Regions from separate parts of the Homo sapiens genome. Here region 1 is linked to region 2. The links are contacts of gene promoters, found by promoter capture Hi-C in blood cells and fetal thymus (Javierre and others, 2016). All regions are on one chromosome and are shown on one strand. Each heading gives the region's core, a stretch centred on a gene start or on the middle of the fragment in contact. The rest is flanking DNA. Distances are from core to core; before and after follow the strand shown. Region 1 has its middle 240 kb from the start of SLC14A2-AS1. Region 2 holds the start of SETBP1-DT (SETBP1 divergent transcript).

What was found. The method cuts DNA at HindIII sites, captures the fragments that hold promoters and counts their contacts. A CHiCAGO score of 5 or more calls a contact.
Region 1: a contact is called between a fragment that was not itself captured here and the fragment with the promoter of SETBP1-DT in region 2, in 1 of 17 cell types (naive B cells). The highest score is 5.6, in naive B cells.

Annotation. Positions count from the first base shown.
Region 1 is chr18:45,257,090-45,261,624 of GRCh38, reverse strand. It overlaps a transcript of SLC14A2 not described here. Among named protein-coding and RNA genes, the nearest start is that of SLC14A2-AS1, 240 kb to the left of the region's middle. The HindIII fragment of the contact is 1,334 bases long and covers 1,723-3,056 here.
Region 2 is chr18:44,678,151-44,683,131 of GRCh38, reverse strand. SETBP1-DT (SETBP1 divergent transcript) reads left to right here and starts at 3,260. Exons shown (of 2, transcript NR_187430.2): 1 at 3,260-3,516; 2 at 4,243-4,981. It overlaps SETBP1 (SET binding protein 1), which reads right to left and starts at 2,244. Exons shown (of 6, transcript NM_015559.3): 1 at 2,111-2,244. RefSeq lists enhancers at 109-198, 249-318, 429-498 and silencers at 2,370-2,419, 2,560-2,809, 3,480-4,119. The HindIII fragment of the contact is 7,071 bases long and covers 2,445-4,981 here.

The sequences.
Region 1 (4,535 bases), core at 1,140-3,639, 580 kb before region 2:
CAATGAGAACACATGGACACAGGAAGGGGAACATCACACTCTGGGGACTGTTGTGGGGTTGGGGGAGAGGGGAGGGATAGCATTAGGAGATATACCTAATGCTAAATGACGAGTTAATGGGTGCAGCACACGAGCATGGCACATATATACATATGTAACTAACCTGCACATTGTGCATATGTACCCTAAAACTTAAAGTATAATAATAAAATTAAAAGAACAAAAAAAGAAAATGTGGCACATATACACCATAGAATACTATGCAGCCATAAAAAATAATGAGTTCATGTCCTTTGTAGGGACATGGATGAAGCTGGAAACCATCATTCTCAGCAAACTATCGCAAGGACAAAAAACCAAACCCCGCATGTTCTCACTCATAGATGGGAATTGAACAATGAGAACACATGGACACAGGAAGGCGAACATCACACACCGGGGCCTGTTGTGGGGTGGGGGCAGGGGGGAGGAATATCATTAGGAGATATACCTAATGTTAAATGACGAGTTAATGGGTGCAGCACACCAACATGGCACACGTATACGTATGTAACTAACCTGAACATTGTGCACATGTACCCTAAAACTTAAATTAAAAAAAAAAAGAAATTAAGAGAATAGAAAATAAAATTTATTTTGGATTCAGAGGGTACACGTGCAGGTTTGTTACATGGGTATATTGCACGATGCTGAGGTTTGGGGTACGGATGGTCCTGTTACCCTGGTGGTGATCATCATACCCAATGCATAGTTTTTTAGCCCTTTCCCCACTCCCTTCCTCCCCTCTCTAGTAGTCCCCAGTATCTGTTGTTACCATCATTATGACCATGTGTATTCAATGTTTAGCTCCCAGTAAATGCCAGTACATTGTTGATTCTACAACAAATGCCAGTAAAAATACATGGCATTTGGCTGTTTCTGCATTGTTAATTCAAGGATAATGCCCTCCAGCTGCATCCATGTTGCTGCAAAGGACATGATTTCATTATTTTTTATGGCTGAGTAGTATGCCATTGTATATATGTACCTTATTTTCTTTATCCAGTCCACTCTTGATGAGCACCTAGGTTGATTCCATGTCTTTTCTATTGTGAATAGTGCTGCAATGAACATATGAGTGCATATGTCTTTTGACAGAACCATTTATTTTCCTTTGGGTATGTACCCAGTAGTAGGGTTACTGAGTGTGAAGTTTTTAAAAGTTGACTTGCAACATGGTAAATGCTACATAGTGTTTGCTCTTCAAATTTAAAGATCTCTGTAAGATCTTTCTTCCTGTTACTTCATGATGTGACTCAGAATACTATTTAATTCTTCTGGGTATAGCAACTTGTGACTTCCTAACTAAACTGTAGGTTGTTCAAGGGCAAGGACACATGTGCCTTGTGTTTATGCCTTCCCTAGTATGATCCATTGCACAGAGGAGCTGCTCAATAAATATCTAATGATGGATTGATTCATAAGGTCCTAAAGCCAATGTTCTCCTATTTCGTGATTTTGCTTCAGGCTAACTTGTCATCTGTGTATATTTTAACAAACTTGGAAAATAGAAAATTCTCTAGTGCTAGAACTGGTCTTCCCTGAACTCTGTCAGAGTTTGCTAAGGGAGTAGTTAGCTTTTTGACATCCCTCCCTCCCATTCCCCCTCTACCAAAAAAATCATTCCATTAGCACCATATCTGAGAAGACAAATTCAGAAATACTGAGCCCAATGCTCAAGCTTTGTGCTCTACCGTTATTTTTTCTCTTGTCTGAGGGACAAAACAAATCCTGCCATCTACTTCCCCAGATTACTCCTTTATATTCTTTTCTTCCAAGAATATACCTTCAGAGTAAACTTGGGCTTCAGTGCTTGGCAATTACTAAAGAAATAAAATATTACCCTTCTCGTTAAGCATTTTGGCCACATTCTTCTTGGTTCCATTTTCAATATCTAAAGTGCAGTGCTCCTTCAGTGCCCTTGAAGACATACTTGTTTCCTTACTGAATGCATTATTCCATAGGAAAAAAAATCTTCATTCAATTTATGAATCACTCTTATCTTTACTCTTCACCTTTCCTTCTCTTTGTATTTCTCTCACTTACATACTTCTAAATTATTTCTGGCCAAACATAAGGCAGCCAACTTGGAATCCTGAGTCTGTAGCTATCTTTATGATCATTCTTTTGGTGCCATTTATGTGAAATGAATTCCCATAGATTTGGGGCACACTGCAAACTCCTTTCATTTTTCCAGACAGCAGCAATTGTGCTGTGGCGAATTATCCAAATGCTGTTTCTTTCCCCTGCCCTGGGTTGTCATTTCTCTCCAACATATTATTTCTTCCTGTTTTGCCTCTATGACCCTACAGTGGACATAATTCATGATTCCAAGGAACTTTATTGCTGTCCTAACCCTAAAAATTATTCCAGAGTGATAGGGATCTTTCTCCACCCTCTGAGCAGGAGAGAGGAGATAAGAGTGTACCACTGAAGTTTTCCAAACCTCCCTTTCTTTTCTGCCTGATGTCTTACAGGCCAAAACCACTGCCTTCTATTTGAAAAGCAACTGTAGGGGTTAGAAGGCAGTGTAGCTCCAGAGCTCAGGGAAATCCACGTGTGAGTGTGCCAGTGTCAGCATATGAAGGGACACACTCCAATGAGAATGGTAGTTCCTGGATGAGACGCTGCACTTCTCTGAGGTGATGTAGAGATCAAGGCAGCTGAGAGAAGTGCAAGGCCTGGATTTGAAGAAACTACATTGAGTTCCAGTTCTTCCACCTTCAAATTCTCCTCTAGGAGCCTGATCAAGTCACACCCCTAGTCATCTTTGGAAAGGGGAGAGACAACTTCCATCTCCCTCACTGAGCTGTCATGGGGATCAATGATCTCAGTACTGGTCAAAGCATTTACAAACTGCAAAGGACCACGTGGATGACGTTACTGGAAAATAAGATACTATAACAAAGAATAAAAGGATGATTATTAAAATGGTCATCCAAATCAATTGATCAATATAATTTGCACTTATTATGTCAGGAAGAAGCAATAAGAAAGGTCCTTGCCTACAAGAAGCTTAAAGTTCAGTTGAGAAGACAAAAGTACCTAGCTTATCCAGACTTACACAGCTGGAACCCTAAGAAAGCAGATCAAATCAGGTGCTAAATTCTGGGCTGTAGCATATTGCAATGGTTCTAAGATTTCAGAGGTTTAAATATTTCAGATAGGAAATAATAATATTGATCAAATGTTCCTACTCCTGATACTGGTAATGTTTTCACTGTTGCAACAGGGGTGGTCTGTGAGATTCGGGCACTTCTGGGCATCTGTGCTCCTGGGTTATGGTAGGCTCCTGGGCACTATGTCCTACCATTGTCAACCTCCCATCACAGAAAGGAGGGATGGGAGCCCAGTGTGAGCGTGCAGAGTCCAGGCTTTAGTGTCAGTCAGCCTCGTTCAAATCACATCTCCAAAAGTAACAACAGGTGACCTTGGAAAAGTGATTTATGCCTTTTATGCCTTGGGGGTTATAACTGTAGCTCGCTCATAGGATGGTGGTGAGAATGAAACGGGGGTCTAGGATATGCCAAATATGAAGAACAGTGCTTGGCATATACTAAGTGCTCAGTAAATGCTCATGACAGTTGTGACTACTGTAGTTGTTATTATTACAAGTGTTTTCCAAAGTGCTTCATTTGGGAGCAATAGTCCTTGTGCGTACTAGTTGTGCCTGATATTTCTCCCAGAGGATGTTCTGTGGCTCAAATATGTGATAATTGCCACCTTTTACATGAAAAACAATGCACATACGTTTTGAAACTTGGGAGAAATCCTTAAAGAGATTGAACTTTAGCCAACCTAGGTAATATAAACATACTTGACTATGGGGCCCTTGGGTCCTACTTAACACCAGTGATTTTATACCTTCTCCGCAGGGCACACTTTGGGGAACCTCCTCTATGAGGTTGGAGAAATGGAGGAAATCTCCAATATACTGATATTTTAAGATTGCCAAGAGCTACATAGAAATAAAGAAATCAATTGGAAACAATATTAACCATATTGTAATTTCTAAAAACTCATGACTTGCATATTTTAATTACTAGCTCATTATTTGATTAAAATTGATTGAAATATTAACTTTTCTTCTTGCTGGCCAATAGCTGACCTGCCATTTTATTAAAAGAAGAGAGGAAGAACTTAAGAATTAGCATACAAAGTCTCAATAATGGCAGAAGGGCCATAAGGTATGCATTAGGATTACATGTGTCTCATGCACTGGTAAATACAAAAGTTAGGAATAACTTCCTAGACAACTTAGTCTATTACGTGTGAATTTATCTAAAACTCCTCAGTGTCCATCATCCCTGGAACAACTAATTTCCAAAGTCAAATTGCCACTTTATAGAGTCAATGGATCCAAATGCAGTGATCAGTTTAATGTTCACTTCCATCTCTTTGAAAATGTGTCACTAAAACCAACTTCTACACAAGCCCATCTTGAAAACACTGTCACTCTTTCACATGGGTCCTTCAGAAGAACATGGTAGAGGCAT
Region 2 (4,981 bases), core at 2,011-4,510:
TTCATGAACATATAAGGCAGTTGATATTTTCTCCCAAGCTAGAAGTGGCCCCCTTCTTAACCGACACTACTGCCTCTCAGACACTCCACCTTATGTTCACTGCAAGCCATCCCCTCCCCCACCTCCAGTTTGTTTATTCCAGAGATACATCTATTTTCCCAGCTAAGAGAGACGAGTCCCTTTCCCTCCTCTGGCTCCCGGTGGTGCATTCGCTCACCACCTCCTCCCCCAGCTCAGCTCAGGTTACTATAGTGGCTAGCAACTCCCACAGCCCAGGTCTAACACCAACTCAACTTCCCAAGACCAATAGTTTGTTTTGGTTTTGGTTTTGTCCCCTTAACGGGGGAGGAGAAATCGTGTGCCAAGCAACACTCTGGGTACCTGGTCTCCATATCTTTGGGGGCTACATTCCCTGCCGTTTGCAAATACTCTGTTTAACCACACTTGATTTCTTCCTCCTCTTCCGACTTTCCCCCAAACACTCTGTCTTAATACCCTTTTCTGGGAACAGGCAATGAGACTAAGCACAGGGGAAAACACAGCACCTCACCTTCACTCTGACACCTGGGAATCCCTCGTCAGAGCAAAAGAGCTCACGCCTCCCTCAGGGAGTTTAAGGATGGTAGAAGCCAGAGAAATCAGAAAAAAAGGGAGGGAGTGACCTGGGATGGTAAACTAGCTACATCTTAAAGTGCTACAAACTTTCTCCTCCCTCACACGCCCCTGTCTGGTTGGCTCCGCCTTCCCATCCCAGCTGGGGTGTGCAAAGGAAACTCTCCCCGGAATGCCCAGGTCTGGTCCAGTGTTGAAGATGTGGCCTGCACACAACACCGCCCTTCCTCTCCAAATACCTCTTCTCTACCCCATCCCCTTTCTCCCACGACACACACATGCTTTGCACGTGAAGATGAGTTTGGATGGGGCACAGGAGATATACCTATTTACTAAAGGAGGGTAAGAGATGGTGCCAAATCGGCAGATAGTTTTGGTGACAGTACAGAGACTTCAAGAAATTAGTTTTTAGTATAAATCTACAGAAAAAGAAGAAAAACAGGATGAAGAGTGAAGGAATGAAAAGAAAAAGAAGGAAAAAGATGTAAGAGAAAAACAATCAACGCCAGTGGACTCCAACTAAACTTTAAGGGGAAAGGTGTGGATAGTTGGCAGGAGGTGGGGGGAGTGTAGGGGCTGGAAGGGAAAGGTATCTGCTGTAGAATTCCAGAATAAACTGCCCTTTTGGAGGAGAGTTTCTGCAGGGATAAAGAGACACACAAATTGCCCTTTTAGCGTTAGATGTCAACCGTGAGATTATCAGGACAGTTTATTTGAAACGGAAACGAATCGGAAATCCTTCCCACAACAGTCCTTTTAGACAGATACACACCCTGAGAATCCAACACAGACACACATAAAGAATAAATGCAGCATTAGGGGGCAATAAGAACTCCCCTTCCACACTCTCAATACCTCTAGCCTCATCTATTTCCAATTGCACAACTTTCAATCTCCAATGAAAATATTTCCAGTTGGATCCGATTTCAGACTTGTAGTAAGCGGTCTGGATGGGGGGGCGGGGGGAATAGGTGCTGTACTGTGCAGGGGAGGGGGGCTGGAAGACAGTATTTCGGCAGTTAACTTATTTTTTTAGAACCAGCATGCTCTACCGATCAGAAATTGCTATTACCCAACAATGCTTCCATCACAAACAGACACTGAAAACAGCATCCCCGTTATCACCATCTTGCCAAAGATCTGCCCGGTCCAGTTTACCTGACTTTGTCCCTGCGGAACTTCTCAGACAGTATTTCGGTCAAAGAGATAATGGTTTGGAAGACAAAAACAATAAATCGATACCGAAGGGTTCCCTTTCCGGAGTGATTTCCCACTGGAAACCACCGAACGGGGAAGCCTGCCGTTCATTCCCAAGCCCACGGCTCCTCTAGAAACGCACACAATGCGTGCTTTCAAAAAGGCATTCGTCTGCTTTTAAGGGAATTCCTATCTTTTCAGAGTCCCAAAACCAGAGAGCACAAGAAAGAGACTCAAATCCATTGATTAAGATTTTTAAGAAAAAGACTAACACACAGGCACAACACAAGCACACACCAACCTTCGCCGGCTGGACCACTTCTTGCCTGTTCTTCTTTCTATTAACGACACGTTAGATTCTGATACATTCCCCCCCCAAAAAAATCCAACTAGGTTACAATGTAGCTCTCTAGCTCCACTTAACCTGCAAGTTACAAAGAGAGAAAAAAAAAATCCTGCCTTCCCACCCCTTTCCTTACCCCCTCCCCCTCCCGAGTCCACTCCACCAACGCCAAACCCGCCAGCCCCGCCAGCCGGCTGCAGGACCGAGGGAGGGTGCAAAAGGCGGGGGGCGGAGGGGGGGTAGATCAGATTAGGCGAAACTCAATAAGCTCCCAGCCCTCCAGCCCAAAGCTTCCACCATCGCCGCCACCAACGAGCCACTCCAATTGAGCCAGCATCGCCGCCCACCCGCCGGCCCGCCGGAATCGCGCCCATCTCCTGCAACCTCGCCCGGACCGGCATCCCGCCCCCTCGGCCCGGTCTCCCCCTTCCCGCCGGGTGCAAAGTCAAAGACCCAGCAAGGCGACGTGAACTTTTGCATGCAGGGCACACACGTCGCCCCCGGTTCCGGGAGTGCGGGGGCCCGCGGCGCGGAGGGAGGCTGGGCGCCCGGGCTCCCGGGCCAAGGTCGCCGCGCGTGCTCACCCATGTCCCGGCGGCTCCGGCTCCGCTGGCCCCGGCGCTCGCTCAGATCCCGGCTCCCGTCGCTCGCCCGAGCCCCCAAAGGTGCTGCTGCGGCAACTCCATGGCGATGAGCATCTGTCAAACGGCGAGCCGCGAGCTGGCCGCCCTAGCTCGGGGGGCGCCGGGGCCCCCGGGCGCGCGGAGGCGGCGGCGAGCGGCGGGCGCCCCGGCCGGCCCCGCGCTTCCCGCCCGACTCTGCCGCCTCCGCCGCGCCACCGATTTATGGAGAGAGATATCAAGGGGGAAAATGGCGTCTCCGGAGCCCGAGGAGTCCTGGAGTAATCACATTCACACACACACGCCCGCACGCACACACACTCGCACACACTGGCACACAGGCGCGCGGCGAGCCCTGCTAATTTTAGCAGGAGCCAAAAAAAATTTTATATATATATATATATATATATATATATATATATCCCCGTCTCTCCGATCAATGCTTTTTCTTTTTTTGCTTTTTTTTTTTTTTTTTTTTTTTTTTTTGCTTTTCTTCAAAGGATGGGTTGGAGCGTTAAAAAATGTTGGTGGGTTTGGGCTCGCAGGAGGCGGCGCGCGGAGGGCGAGGGCGCTTTTGCTGAGCTGTGCAGTTCGGTCCGCTGAGCCCGGCGGCCCTGCCCGCCCGCTCGTCCGCCCGCGGTCGCTAGTGTTGCCGCCGCCGCCGCCGCCGCCGCCGCTGCTGCTCCATGGCCGCGCCCGCCCCGCGCCCCCGCCGCGTCCCGTCGCCGCCCGCCCGCGTCCCCGGTGAGCGCTGGAGTGGGGTCGGGCCCGTGTGCCTGCCTCCCGCGCCCTCTCCGAATCCCGGACTCCTAGTGAAAGGAAGGGGGAGGGCGCGGGCGCGGAAGGGAGGTGGATCGGAGCGGCAGCGCGGCCCAGCCGAACGGGTACCGACCGTCACCCCGCGATCTTCCTCGCAGGGGGCGCCGGCGCCCAAGCTGCTCGCCCGGAGGGCCCAGAGCCGCTTCCCAGACCAGAGCCGGGGGAGGCGCAGCCAGTAGCGAGCCCTGAGCGACCTCTCTCCCCACTCGCCCCCCTGCCCCAGTGAATTTCTGTCAGTTGAAGGGAGCGGGGCTCTTGCCCGGGGAAAAGGAAAACAGTTCGTGGCCTGGGATCTGGGACCCCTTGCCGCCCCCAGCGCCCCTCCCGCTCCCCGGCGCCCTTGCGGCCCAGTGGCTCCTGCGCGCCGGAGTCCGCCGCGAAGACTGAGCGGCCGCGGGGATCGCCGCGGGCTCCGCGCGTATTCCTGGGCTCAACACTGCCACTATCTGACACAACAGGAGCAGTGTCGGGGGGGTACTGCGCGCCCAGACGTGAGCTGTGATAGGCTCTCGAAACTGGGCGCATTTTTTTTTTAACCTGGTAATTATATTTCACTTTCAGGGTTTTTTTAAATTATTATTATTATTTTATTGTTGTTGTTAAGCGACTTGTATGCATTCAGATCTCATGTGCATTTTCTCGTTATTCAAGAGAATTGGACACTTGATGAAGGGAAGGACACGGAGAGATGACAAACGCAGACTGGCATGCAGTTGTTTTCAGGGTGGGAAGAACAAAGTGGAATGTCTTCAGTTCTTACAAAATATGGTGGCATTTGTAATCTCTGAGTTTTTGTATTTGGCCTACAAAGGGGGTCTTTTCAGGGAAACACGAATGGAACCCTTCAGAGACATGTCTACATTGTAAAACAATATAGGATAGATACGGATTCGGGAAGGTCTGCAAATGGTTCCGCTCAAAGAACTTGGGGTAAAGTTGACCGAGGACTCGGATTCTGAGAGGACTCCTATCACGTTCTTCATGAGAGTTTTAGGCTATTTGGACTGAGGAATGATTTGGAGGTACGTCGGGGGCATTCCCTCACTGAGGCCATCAGTGGCTGCCTCCCTGCATTGGCTGCTGGTTTGAGTTCCTTCACAGAACTTCTTCGTCAAGTTTTTCATAGGAACGCTGCAGTGAAGTGGAGTGAAAGAGACTGGGGATTGAAGGGTGAACCCCTTCCAGCCCCAATCCCATCCCGATTCCTGTCTGGATGCAGATTCAGTCTGACTCAGAACGGATAGTTCACCCTTTTACTGATCCAAGTGCTCTGTCCTCTTTTTTTCAGAGGAATGTTCTGACTGGCTACAAACTTTTCTTCTGTCACTGCAGGACCTCCCGTGGAGCAATTTTCGATAGGTCTTCTACTATGCTTTTTTACCGCGTCATT